Regions from separate parts of the Homo sapiens genome. Here regions 1 and 3 are each linked to region 2. Evidence: promoter capture Hi-C in 16 types of primary human blood cells and fetal thymus (Javierre and others, 2016). All regions are on one chromosome and are shown on one strand. Each heading gives the region's core, a stretch centred on a gene start or on the middle of the fragment in contact. The rest is flanking DNA. Distances are from core to core; before and after follow the strand shown. Region 1 holds the start of ZNF865 (zinc finger protein 865). Region 2 holds the start of BRSK1 (BR serine/threonine kinase 1). Region 3 holds the start of CCDC106 (coiled-coil domain containing 106).

The links. Contacts are between HindIII fragments. The CHiCAGO score rates a contact against its expected background, and 5 or more counts as called.
Region 1: a contact is called between a fragment that was not itself captured here and the fragment with the promoter of BRSK1 in region 2, in 15 of 17 cell types (erythroblasts, activated CD4 T cells, fetal thymus and 12 more). The highest score is 16.6, in erythroblasts.
Region 3: a contact is called between the fragment with the promoter of CCDC106 here and the fragment with the promoter of BRSK1 in region 2, in 9 of 17 cell types (non-activated CD4 T cells, naive CD8 T cells, naive CD4 T cells and 6 more). The highest score is 10.8, in non-activated CD4 T cells.

The regions. Positions count from the first base shown.
Region 1 is chr19:55,604,262-55,608,243 of GRCh38, forward strand. ZNF865 (zinc finger protein 865) reads left to right here and starts at 1,386. Exons shown (of 2, transcript NM_001195605.2): 1 at 1,386-1,471. RefSeq lists enhancers at 8-559, 560-1,111 and a silencer at 1,155-1,654. The HindIII fragment of the contact is 2,248 bases long and covers 561-2,808 here.
Region 2 is chr19:55,281,495-55,285,983 of GRCh38, forward strand. It overlaps BRSK1 (BR serine/threonine kinase 1), which reads left to right and starts at 2,503. Exons shown (of 19, transcript NM_032430.2): 1 at 2,503-3,084. The coding sequence starts at 2,949. The HindIII fragment of the contact is 8,428 bases long and covers 1,797-4,489 here.
Region 3 is chr19:55,646,210-55,650,840 of GRCh38, forward strand. It overlaps CCDC106 (coiled-coil domain containing 106), which reads left to right and starts at 2,003. Exons shown (of 5, transcript NM_001370470.1): 1 at 2,003-2,868; 2 at 2,996-3,100; 3 at 3,199-3,375. The coding sequence starts at 2,838. RefSeq lists silencers at 2,079-2,198, 2,229-2,358 and an enhancer at 3,419-3,468. The HindIII fragment of the contact is 17,145 bases long and covers 1,058-4,631 here.

The DNA of each region.
Region 1 (3,982 bases), core at 435-2,934, 320 kb after region 2:
TTCTCTCCCTCAGCCTCCCGAGTAGCTGGAATTACAGGCGCCCGCCACCACGCCTGGCTAATTTTTGTAATTTTAGTAGAGACGGGGTTTCACCATCTTGGCCAGGCTGGTCTTGACCTCCTGACCTCGTGATCCACCCGCCTCGGCCTCCCAAAGTGCTGGGATTACAGGCGTGAGCCACCGCGTCCAGCCTAATTTTTGTATTTTTTTTTTTTGTAGAGACGGGGTTTTGCCATATTGCCCAGGCTGGTCTTGAACTCCTGTGCTCAAGCAATCCGCCTGCCTTGGCCTCCCAAAGTGCTGGGATTACAGGCGTGAGCCACCACGCCAGGCCAAGAGAACGGATTTTAAGGTGAGGGGCGGAGCTTATAATAATTCAGCTCTGAGGTGGGCGTGGTTCAGGGCCGAGGGCCGGGGGCCGGGGCTTAAAGGAGAAACTCTGAGGGAACAGGGTATTGGAGGTGGGACTTAGAAGGTGCTGATGGGGGCGCACGACTGCTATGGAGGCGATGGGGAGAGAAGGAAGTACTTAATCTAAGGGAAGTTCCTGGGAGAGTGGAAGCTTAGCAGGAGGGGCTGAATGGGTCTGGGTTTGGCTGTTTGGGATGGGGCTGAGTTGGGAGCCGGGATTATAGCGATTATATGAGCGGGCAGTGTCAAGTGTGGTAAATCCATGGCTCTTGACCAGCATGCAGCAGAATCAGAGTATTTCAAAACACGGATCCCTAGACCCCCAACCCCAGGGCTTCTATTCCGCATGGTCTGAGCAGGCAGCCGGATGCTGCTGGCCTCCCAACTATCCTTGACAACCACCGATTTAAAAGAATGCTTTAGAGGTGGGAGGCACTCAAAAGTCACGAGGTGCAACTTAAATGCTATGGGGTGAAGGGGCGGGGCTTGGATGGAGGGGGCGGGGCCTAGGGAGGGGTGAAGTTCCAGAGAGTGGGAGCTTGGAGAGGGGGAAGAACAGGAGAAACTGCATGAGGGCGAGGGGACGAAGACAGACTTTGAGGCAGTAGGGGGCTTATAATCACGCTGTGAGATGGGCGTGGTTCAGGGCCAGGGGGCGGGGCTTCAGTGTGAGACCCGAGCCGGAGGTGTGGCTTAACCGGACGCCCAGAGCGTGTCGCGGGGTTCCCGTAGAAGAGGCGGGCATTCAAAGCGCAGGCGCACCTGGCTCAGTTCGCCCACCGGAATCGGCCCGGGCTTTCACTGCTCGCGTCCCCGAGTCAGTGCGCAAGCGCATTTCCCCCCTCCTGGTCCCCGCCACCGCCTCCTCTTTCCGATCCTCCACGCCGGCGCCTCGGGAACGGGCGCGACTTCCGCTTCCGGGCGGGCGGGCAGGCGGGCGGTGCGGGGCTGCCGGGGAGGGGGGAGGGGGCGGCACTTCCGGTCGGGCCCTCGGGTCTCCCCGGAGCGGCGGCGCCTCCTCCGCCTCCTCGGCCTCCTCCCGGCGGAGACCCCGGCGCCGGTGAGTGACGGGGTGCGTGGCCCGGGGGCCCGGGTGCAGCGGGGGCGGGGGGCCCCGCCCTGGCCCGCTGTGGTCCCCAGAACGTCCCCCAACCCCTAGCAAGTCAGTGCAGCTCCCGCCGGGCCCTTGCCAAGGGACCCCCAATCACTGCTCCCCGGTAGGATCACTGCAGATAGCTCCCCCATGAACGCCCCCAGCTAGGATGGCTGCCAAAGCGCTTTCATTCGTGGCGATCCCCTAAACGGCTGCCAGGGCCCCCAAATGATACCTCCTCGTAGGATCCCCTCCACATAGCGCTCCCCGTCATTGCTTCCTCCAGGTCAGCCTCCAGATGCCATCAGCATTGCCCCTCCCCATGTAGGGCAGCTGCTCGTGAACCCTCTTATTAGTATCCTCTATATAATTCTCCCCAGAGTGTTTCCTTAGTGCCTTGCAGCAGAACTGTCCCCCGTTATCTCTGTCCATACAGCAACAGCCCCCAATGGCCCTGACCACCTCCCTCCCCAGCAGAACGCCCCTTCGTGGGTGTGAAAATACTTTCTATTCTGGTCAGCACCAAGAATGCCTTTTTCCCTTCTGCAGGTCCTCCAGTGATTCCCCTTAAGAATGCCCCTTTCAAAGCCACCCCCCCATCGCAGCGGCACAGCTCCCTCTAGAGTTCCTTCACACTCACATCCTCTCCCGCCTCAGGTAGAAATATCCGCCTGCTTAGCTCCAGGCTCCCATGACATACTCCCGTACCTCCTCTCACCCCACCCTCATCGCGGTCAGCCCGTCTTCATTACTTCTGCCACAGAACAGTGTCCCGCAGTGAGGCGGTGAAGCCTTCCTTCCCAGAATGTGCCTCATCCTCTTCCTATGGCGTGAACAACTGTTGCCCTGACCTGCAGCTTCTCACCCAGCTCTCAGGCTATCGTCCTGGACTCCCTAGGGAAGACCCTGGACTTCACTAGGGTGTGACTTCTTTTCTCGTAGGCATTCCTTCTGCGTTGAACGCATATTCACTATTCTAGCTGAAGGGTATAATATACAGCCACGAAGGGGGTCGATACACACAGTGTTCTCACTGTGCGGGGTCTCACAGTCTAGTTGATCAGACACGAGTCGACAAAGATACACGGGGTTTTGTGGGTTCTCTGAGAGCCTGATGAACTACTTTAGAGGTGAAAGCTGAATTACAAGTGGCAGCTTAGCCATGCAAAGATCTGGGTGAGCAGGCAGCAAGAACAACAAGTGCAAAGGCCCTGAAGTGGCGGTGAGCACGGTGAGTGGAGGAGCAGCAGGGGAGGCCGGTGAGGGTGGAGTGGAAGATTTGAAGGCAAGAACAAGAGGAAGGAAGCTTTGGTCTCAAAAGGCTTTGGAGGTGAGGGCACTGGGATAAATTATCTAGCCTTTGTCAGCTCTACCGAGCCCAGAATGTTCTTCATTCATTCATACGTTCATTCGTAAACACTGGTTGAACAACTGTTTAATGAGCACCTACTTTACATTGGGGGTACAACAGAGAACAAAATAGACAAGAATCCCTGTCCTCATGGAGTGGATATGCTAGTTGAGGGGGCAGATGATTAAAAGACAAAATACAGGCCAGGCGAGGTGGCTCATGCCTGTAATCCCAGCAGTTGGGAAGGCCAAAGTGGGAGGATCGCTGGAGGCCAGGAGTTCAAGACCAACCTCGGCAACATAGTGAGACCCTGTCTTTACAGGAAAAAAAAAAAAAAAAAAAAAAAGCTGGGTGTGGTTGGTGGGCACCTGTAGTCCCCAGCTATTCAGGAGGCTGAGGTGGGAGGGCTGCTTGAGCCCAGGAGTTCGAGGCTGCAGTGAAAAAAAATAAAAACAAAAACCAAGAGTATATGTGCGTGTTCAGAATATCACGGGATAAAGAGATAGACCTGGGGGGCTGTGGTTCAGGATGGCCTCCCCCAGGATTTTCCTATGTCTTGTCATCTTGTCCCTCCCAAAAGCCACACACCAAAAAGTTATACAAGAGTAAAAATTCCCCTTCTCCTGGACAACTGTGGCCCACTTGGGGGCTGCTCTTAACAGCGCCCTAACCCCAGGAGCGAAGTGATTGGGAGGATGAGCCCTGGATTCCACTAGGGTTCACAGCTTTGAGCAAATCACTCCCTCCTTTCCTAGCCTCATTCATTCACTTCTTCAAACAAAAATGTATCAAGCCAGGAACTGTTGTAGGTCCTGGGGATGGAACAGTGAGCAAGAGATAAAAATCCTTGCCTTCAGGAAGCCGATCATCTGGATGGGGAGACCAACAAAATCAAGGCAAAGAAGTAGATTATGTGAGGTTATAAATGATGCTGAGCAGTAAGGAGAGAAATGAAGCAGGGTTAGGGAGATGAGGATGTGGGCCTGGGTGACAGGTCATTGGTTACTGAGAGGCTCATTGAGAAGACAGTTGACCAAAGATGGGGAGGAGGTGAAGGGGTGAGCGAGATGGTTGCCTGAGAGTCAGAATATTACAGGCAACAGCAACAGCCAGCGCAAAGGCCCTGC
Region 2 (4,489 bases), core at 1,253-3,752:
CTCCTGCCTCCTTCTCACAAATACTCTTGTGATTCCATCGAGCTCACCCAAATAACTGGGATAATCTCCCTATCTCAGTCACATGGGCAAAGTCCCTTCAGCCATGCAAGGTAACTTATGCACAGATCCTGGGAATTAGGACACGGACATCTATGTACAAGTCTATCAGTTTATAATACATGGCCGGGGGCAGTGGCTCAGGTCTATAATCTCAGTACTTTGGGAGGCCAAGGTGGGAGGATCACTTGAACCCAAGAGCTCGAGACCAGCCTGGGCAACATAGTGTGTCCCCAGCCCTACAAAAAAATACAAGAATTAGCCATGTGTGATGGCATCTGCTTATATCACAGCTAGGCAGGAGGCTGAGGCAGGAGGATCACTTGAGCCCAGGAGGTCGAGGCTGCAGGGAACTATGACTGCCCTACTGCACCCCAGCCTAGGCAACAGGGGGAAGACCCTGTCTCAAAAAACAAAACAAAACAAAAAAAAGAGGGTGATCATATAATTTTTCATCTATAGCAAGACATTTGAGAGCAAAAAGGGACTCAATAGTTACAGAACCAGGCCAGGTGTGGTAGCTCACGCCTGTAATCCCAGCACTTTGGGAAGCTGAGGTGGGCAAATCACAAGGTCAGGAGTTTGAGACCAGCCTGACCAACATGGTGAAACCCCATCTCTACTAAAAATACAAAAATTAGCCAGGCATGGTGGCGGGTGCCTATAATCCCAGCTACTCGGGAGGCTGAGGCAGGAGAATCGCTTGAACCCAGGATGTGGAGGTTGTAGTGAGCTGAGATTGTGCCACTGCACTCCAGCCTGGGAGACAGAGCAAGATTCCGTCTCAAAAAAAAAAAAAAAAAAAAAAAAAAAAAAAAAAAAAGGCTACAGAACCAGCCTGGCTAACAGGGTGAAACTCCATCTCTACTAAAAATACAAAAAAAGCCGGACGCCTAAAATTGTACCCTGCTCAACAGGCCCCTCTTAACCCCCTTCCCTGCTGTAGTCACCTCCTCAGCACGGACATGATTATCTAACACACCATACATTTTGCCTATTGACCTTGCTGATCATCTGTTTCATCCACCAGCATGGAAGCTCCACAGGACAGGCCTTTTTGCTGATTTAGGTCACTGCCACGTTCTTACCAACAGGAACAGTGCCTGGCTGAGATTTGGCACTCATTAAAGATGTGTGGACTCAAGGTGTTGAATGGGGGACTGGGAAATCTCACAGGAGCCAATAGGCTCCTGTGTGCACTTTATTTTATTTTATTTTTGTTAGAGACAGGGCCTCACTCTGTTGCTCAGGCTGGAGTGCAGTGGTGCAAACGTAGCTCACTGCAGCCTAGAACTCACTGACTCAAGCCTCAGCCTCCCAAGTAGCTGGGACTACAGGCACATGCCACCATGCCCGGCTAATTTTTAAAAAAATTTTTGTAGGGATGGGGTCTCACTGTGTTGCCCAGGCTGATCTTCCCACCTCTGTCTCCCAAAGTATTGGGATTACAGGCATGAGCCACCTTGCCCAGCCCTGGGTGTGCTTTACAGGGGACTTGAGAATTAAATGGGTGTCTAACACTTGCGGGTACATGACATAGAGGGATCTATGGTTTATGCGGAAAGCTAATGGGGGCAGGCGGGTTACTCACAGGCAGAGCACATGCTTGTGGACCTGCTACAGTGGGGATGTATGGGCTGTACTGGGGTCCACATGAAGATATAAAGGACCCTATGACGAGCACAGAGAATATATGGGGGTCTAAAAACATAACACAGGGAAACTGAGGGGGTTCTGGAAGCTTCTCTGTAAAGAGAATCCAAAATCACTCTGGGCTGTGGGTAGATATGGGGCCTTGACATTGGTGGGGACACAGACTTACCCTTACCCTGAATGGGTGGCCTTAGGGGGCTGGGGAAACAGACATGAATTTTGGGTCAGCAACTCCAAGAATTCTTTCCCCTCTCTGTCTCTGTCTCCCTCCATATGTCCCCACCTCTCCCCAGCACGTGTCCCTCCACCTGTGTGTACCCCCGGCCCTCTCTACAGCTCCATCTGCGCCCCCTCTCCCCCACCTCTCTGGTTGGTCTTCCTCTCTCTGTCTCTCTGAATCTCTGACTCTCTCCATCCCTCTGTCGGCTTCCAGCAGCTTTCTCTCCCTCTCCCTGTCTGTTTTCCCGGCTTGCCATTCCTTCCTTCTCTTCTGTCCCTGTCCATCTCTGCCCTTCCTCCCTCTCTGCCTCAGCCTGTCTCTGGTGGTCTCCATCCCTCTGGCGTCTCTGCCTGTCTCCCGTCTCTGTGTCAGCCAGCATCTCTCTTTGTGTATCTCCATCTCTGCCCCATCTGTTGGGTCCTCTCTCTCTCTCTCCATCCTTCCCTCCATCCTCTCTCCTGCATCCTCCCACCTCCTCTCCATCCCTCCAGCTGGAGGCCCGCCCCCTGCCCCCCCTCGCTCCCCCTCCCCCCTCCGAAAGGGTTAACTTTGGGGAAGGGCCCGGAGTCCCCGGATGGTGATGTCAGCGTGCCGGAGAGAAAGGACGAGGTGGCGGGGGGAGGCGGAGAGGAGGAGGAGGCGGAGGAGAGAGGGCGCGTGGGGGGGCGGGGGGGACCTCGGCCTGCAGCATCCGCCGGCCCGCACCTCAGACCCCCCCGGCGGGGGGAGGCGCAGGAAGCGGGGGGCCGGCCAGAAACGGGCTGGGGAGGGGGGGCCCCGCAGCCCCCCTGGGCCATGCTGACTCCCGGGGCCTGACCCCCCCGGGCCAGCCCCCCCTCCCCCAGCTCCGCGGCCCGCCGACTGGGGGGGGCCAGCCCAGCCCCCTGGGGACCCCCGGAGAGGTGGGGGGCAGCCGGGGGGGCCGGGACGGAGCGGTCGCCGGCCCCCACCGGAGAGACGGGGCGACGGCCGCAGGGGGGGCGGCCGGGGGACCGGTCGGGCCGGGACCAAGGGCACCATGTCGTCCGGGGCCAAGGAGGGAGGTGGGGGCTCTCCCGCCTACCACCTCCCCCACCCCCACCCCCACCCACCCCAGCACGCCCAATATGTGGGCCCCTATCGGCTGGAGAAGACGCTGGGCAAAGGACAGACAGGTGAGCCTAGCAGAAGGGGACACCTGGGGCGGGGGGCAGGGTGGAGGTGGCGGCAGAGGCGGGACTCAGGGTATTCAAATGGCAGGGGCTGGCTGCCCAGACCCCTGGGCCCCTCATAGAGAAGGGACTTGGGATTCAGACTCCTGGGTCCCTGGATGGAGGGGGTGGGGGGCGCAGACTCAGGTCCTGGAGGAGAGGGGCTGGGGGCCTGGACTCCTGGGTCTGAGGGAGGAGGGGCTGGGCACTGGACTCCTAGGTCTGAGGGAGGAGGGCCTGGGGGCCTGGACTCCTGGGTTTCAGGGAGGAGGGCCTGGGGGTCTGGACTCCTGGGTTTCAGGGAGGAGGGGCTGTGCTTGGACTCCGGAGTCTGAGGGAGGAGAGGCTGGTGGCCTGCACTCCTGGGTCTGAAGGAGAAGGGCTTGGGGGCCTGGACTCCAGGGTCTGAGGGAGGAGGGGCTGGGGGTCTGGACTTCTGGGTCTGAGGGAGGAGGGGACTGGGGTCCTGGACTTTTGGGTTTGAGGGAGGAGGGACTGCGGTCCTGGACTTTCAGGTCTGAGGGAGGAGGGCCTGGGGGCCTGGACTCCTGAGTATGAAGGAAGAGGGTCTGGGGTCTGGACTCCTGGGTCTGAGGGAGGAGGGGCAGGGGTGCTGAACTCCTGGGTCTGAAGGAGGAGGGGCTGGGGGCCTGGACTCCTGAGTCTGAGGGAGGAGGGCGGTCGGAACCTTGAGTGTTGGGACAGGGAGTTTGGGGCCCCAGTGCTCCAGTCCCCATAGGGGCAGAGGCTGGAGGGGCTCCAGGGCCAGGGAGGGGATGGAGGCGGCCTGCAGAGTGGGGCCGGGCTGGGACCTGAGGTTCTTGCTGCAGTACAGCTGCAGACCGGGGTGCAGTGCATCCATCCTGGGAAACCTCTTCCCTCCCCACTGTCCTCTGGCCTCCAGTTCTCCAGGCAGCAGGTTGGGGTGACAGGGGCCGTGGGGCCTAAGACATTCTCCCCTTCTCTGGCATGCTGGCTCAGAGTGGGAAACAGGATGGAGGGTGGGAAGGTGGGCTGCAGCAGGCGCGTCTCCTGGAGCGGCTGTGGAAAGGGCGTTCATCCTCTGCTGTTGCTGAACGCTGGCCACCGGCCGCGGCCTCCTTCCTGCCGGATGGATGGTGGGTGGAGGTGACATGGGAGCTGAACGCCCAGAGTCTCTATGAAGCTCAGGGCCAGAGCTGGCAGGAGTGGGGACCGACTGGGCCGTAACTGGGAGCTGAGACCCTAGGGAAAAGGAGAGGGTCAAAGTCCCAGATCCTGAGTGGTAAGAGTGTGAAGGTGTTGCTGACCTGAATTCCTGAGTTACAGGAGAAGAAGGGGTCAGACCTGGACTGGGTCTGAGGGAGGAGGGGCTGGGCCTGGAGTGCTG
Region 3 (4,631 bases), core at 753-3,252, 360 kb after region 2:
CCCAGGCTGGAGTGTAATGGCGTGATCTCAGCTCACTGCAACCTTCACCTCCTGGGTTCAAGCGATTCTCCTGCTTCAGCCTCCCAAGTAGTTGGGGTTACAAGCGTGTGCCACCATGCCCAGCTAATTTTGTACCTTTAGTAGAGATGGGTTTCACCGTGTTTGTCAGGCTGGTCTCGAACTCCTGACCTGAGGTGATCCACACACCTCGGCCTCCCTCAGGGCACTAGGCCTCGAAACAAAAGTTTTTTTTTTTTTTTTCTTTTGAGACGGAGTCTTGCTCTGTCGCCCAGGCTGGAGTGCAGTGGCGCAATCTCGGCTCACTGCAAGCTCCGCCTCCCGAGTTCATGCCATTCTCCTGCCTCAGCCTCCTGAGTAGGTGGGACTACAGGCGCCCGCCACCATGCCTGTCTAATTTTTTGTATTTTTAGTAGAGACAGGGTTTCACTGTGTTAGCCAGGATGGTCTCGATCTCCTGACCTCGTGATCCGCCCCCCTCTGCCTCCCAAAGTGTTGGGATTACAGGCGTGAGCCACTGCGCCCGGCCCACAAAAATTTCTTTACCATAGTTAGCTTTAGTTTGTGCATTTTTTTTTCCATCAACTATTATTATTACTATTTGAGACGGAGTCTCGCTGTGTCGCCCAGGCTGGAGCGTGGTGCGATCTCGGCTCACTGCAACCTCCACCTCCCCGGTTTAAGCGATTCTCCTGCCTCAGCCTCCTGAGTAGCTGGGATTACAGGTGTGCACCACCACGCCCGGCTAAATATTTTTTTAAACTGCTGATTTCATCCTATTCTATTGAATTCTCCACCCATGAACCTGTAGTTTGGAAAAGACCAATCTAGGGCAGATGGCTCCCCCTGGAATTTTTGGACCAGGCTGCAGTTAATCTGTAAAGTGGGGAGGGGAGGATCATGGTCACAGCTTTGCAGGCGGTGCAGACATTTAGATTCTCCCTCCATCGGGTTAAGACCTTGCTCTTATAAGGGCTGGCCACAGTCCAGAGCTTGGATGCTTCTGGTGAACAGGAGAGGCAGGTGGAGCTGAGCCTGAAGCTTAATAAACATCTGCTTATTCATTCATTTTTCTTGCCTATTTTGTGCCAGGCACTGTGCTAGGCCTCATTTGCTCTTCCGACCTGTTTTTTTGGGAGGAAGAACAAATCTTCCGTTCATACTCCCCAGAGTGGGAAAGAGCCTCCCAGAGGCTGCCATCATACCCCACCATCTGACCTCAAATAATACCAGCAGCGCTCCTCTCTTCAGCCCTGACGATGGCCAGGTGCTGGGCTGAGCTTCTGTGTGTCGCATCACTGCATCCTCACAATAAATTTAGAAGGGCTTGTAATTTCCCCATTTTGCAGGTGAGTTAACAGGCTGGGGAGGAGCAGGAACAGTCAGGACTGGAATCTAGCTTTGCTCCAAAGCCAGCTCTTAATTACCAACATGGGGATGGGGGTGGCGTGTTCCTGGCCCTCATTTTCCGGGAGAGGGGTAACTCCCCCGATTTTGGCCCCCACATCCCTGAGAACCTTGGGGTCTGGCTGTAGGAGGTAGGGGAGCTCTGAGGGGTCCGCGCTGGCTAGTTCCTGAGAGAGCGTTAAAAGTAGATTCTCCTTTCGCTCCAACTTTCTCGGTGTCTCAAACACTCTCCTGCCTTCTGGGCCCATTGGGCACACCGCCACCCAATCCGGGGACCCCCGGAGACTCGCCAGCTCTCCAGGATGGGAATTTCGTGATGTTCCCTGCCTGAGCTTCGGGGAGGGCGGGGGAGTGCTGTAAGGGGCTATCGCGCAAGTGCAGACCCTCTGCTTCTGCCGCAAACGGCGGGCCTCACCTGGACCCGGGGACTCTTCAACGAGGGGCGCTAGCCTGGCCCGACTGGGCGAGTCCCCGCGTCCCTGCCCGTTCCGTCGCTCAGTTCCACGACACGCTCCCCTGCCGCCCCGCCTGTTCGCGGGTGGGTGGGCGCTTCCCTCGGCTCCCCGTGACACTTTGCAGACGCTCCCCGGCGCCGGGCATGGGCGCCGCCGCCGTCGGTCCCCGAGCCGGATTCCGCGAGCGGGTGGGTGAGCGCGGGGGGCCTCGGCCCCTCGGACCCCGGGCACCCGCGGGCGGGGGATGGTGGCCGCGTTTGCACCCCCGCCCTAGTGCATGTTCCCGCTGGAATCGTTCCACGACCGCTCCCCCTCCCACCCGCGGGACAAAGGGCGGGGGCGGGGGGGGCGCACCCCCACGCGTGACCTTTCCCCGTACTGCGCACGCGCCCAGCCCCCACCACCGGGGGACGGTCCGCCCGCCCACGCGAGTGCGGGGGAGGGGTGTGGGGGCCCCGAAGGTAGAGGAGGCAGCGCGCACGGGCTGGACCTCCTCCTACCCTGGGAAGTTGGGGCAGTTTCCCCCTGCACCTGCCTCTTCCTTAGGCCTGGCAGTGGCCCGCGATGAGAGAGGGTCCTTCCCCTTCAGGCTAGGTGTCCCTGGTCAGGCGACCCCTTGGGGCACCCAGCAATTTAGGGCTTCAGCTTCCTTTTCCTTCGATACCCAGGAGCCCACGTCCCCAGCTCACTTCTCCCCCAGGACCTAGGCGGCTGGGCCCCCTGCCCCTGACTCCAGGAGCCCAGGAGTTTGAAGCCCAGGCGCGTTTTGCCTCAGTCCTGGGGTCCAGGCTCCCTCCTCCCTCAGACCAGGGGTCCAGGCCAGAAGGTCCCTCCTGTCTCACTTCACCTCCCCCAGGATGGACCCTCCAGTCCATCTGCGTCTCTCCATTTGTGGCTGCCGTTTCTGTCCAGTGCCCCTGAGGCCCTCGGCTGCTGGGGTCCGTAGGAAGCCGCGCCATGAATGACCGGAGCAGTCGGAGGCGGACAAGTGAGGAAGCTGGGTCCCCTTCCCTACCCTGGGTCCCAGTGCGGTCGGCTCCAGGCTGCCGTGGTTGGGGGGTGGCCTGAGAGGCCCGGGGAATTCTCTGGGGTAACCCGGGGCCTCTCCTCTCCAGTGAAGGACGATGAGACCTTCGAGATCTCCATTCCCTTCGATGAGGCACCCCACCTAGACCCACAGATCTTTTACAGTCTGAGCCCCTCTCGGAGAAACTTCGAGGGTGAGCTGAGGGGGTGTGGAGGGACTGGAGTCAGCTGGGAAGCCAAGCCCTGAGTCCCAGGGTGTGACCTGGTCCCCCCACCCTCGCTGTGTCCCTAGAGCCTCCGGAGGCTGCGTCCTCCGCCCTGGCTCTGATGAACAGCGTCAAGACCCAGCTGCACATGGCTCTGGAGAGGAACTCCTGGCTGCAGAAGCGCATCGAGGACCTGGAGGAAGAGAGGGACTTCCTGCGGTGCCAGCTGGACAAATTCATCTCTTCTGCTCGGATGGAGGCAGGTGTGTGTGGGGTGCTCTGATCCACATGCCTCCCTGTCCCGCTACTGGGTACCCGCTCACCCAGACTCAAGGCTCCACTGTTTGGCTGGCTGGGTGGGACCTGCCATGTTGGCCCTATCTGCTAGTCCCCTGCCTGTTTTGGGCCCCCAGGCCCAGCTGCCTCCTCACTTGATTCCAGGGCCTCATCCCCATGAACTGTCTACTGGGGCCCGTCCTCCTGCCTTCTCCGTCAGCTCCCCAAATCCCATCAGCCTCCAGTGCCCTGCCATCTGCTTCCTTGGCCCATGGTGACTTCAGGGACCCTGGCACCTGAGAGCCCCTCTCTTCTGACTCCTAGGGGGACCTTCCTTCATCTCTTTGGCCAAGAGGCCCACCCTAGTTCTTTGGGTTTCCTCAGGGGGCCCCTGCTCCTCCTCCCGTCCCTGTCTTCTCCAAGATCCAAGAGTCCAGCCATCCGGCCTCCTCCTGTCCCCCCCTCCCCTCTGTGACACCAGGGGCCATCTTCCCACCCACCCTGTCCCATCCTTGGTTAATGAGCACTCCTTCCCCATCAAAGACATTAAGTCCCTTCCTTTGTGGGCCTTTTTGGGTGGTGACCCCAGCAGGTGCTGTCCCTCAAACCCTGCCTGATTCCTGGGCAGTCCCCACCCACATACCTTGCTCTGCTATAATTCATGGCCAGAAGCAGCCCAGATAGCTCCCACAGCAGCACCCAGCCCCAGCCAGTTCACAGCTAGCGTCTTCTCTTGACTGGTGGGACCCTGTGCCCTGTTTAATACATTTTGGACCCCAGCCCCATCCTCTTCCCCGGATGGTCAGGCCGTTTGCCCGACAGCCCATGGCCTGGAGAACCCACACTCTACCCCACCTACCCTCATCTCAGCCTTGCTAGCTCCTTGGCTGGGAAGACCCCTCAAAAGCTCCCACATCTCTCTTTGTGAATTCAACCCTTTCCCCAAAAATCCTAGGCAAGGGGGCTATGGTCTTGTGGTGTCTCTGTTACTGGAAGCCCAGCATCTGGGGATCTGGCTTTCCCTCTGCTCGGGAACAAACCACCTCTGGCTGCCCTTGGGCCTGCCACTGTCTCCTCTCACTGATGGTTCCATCCTGGGTGACTGACTCCTTTGCACAGACAGTTTGGCCCTGCGGCTTCGGCACTTTCCCAGTGGGGACCCTGGCACCAGAGCCCTCCCCTAACCCGCCTTCTAGAGGAATCTGTGTCTGGGCCTCCGCCTGCCGGCTCCCTCTGTCTAGAT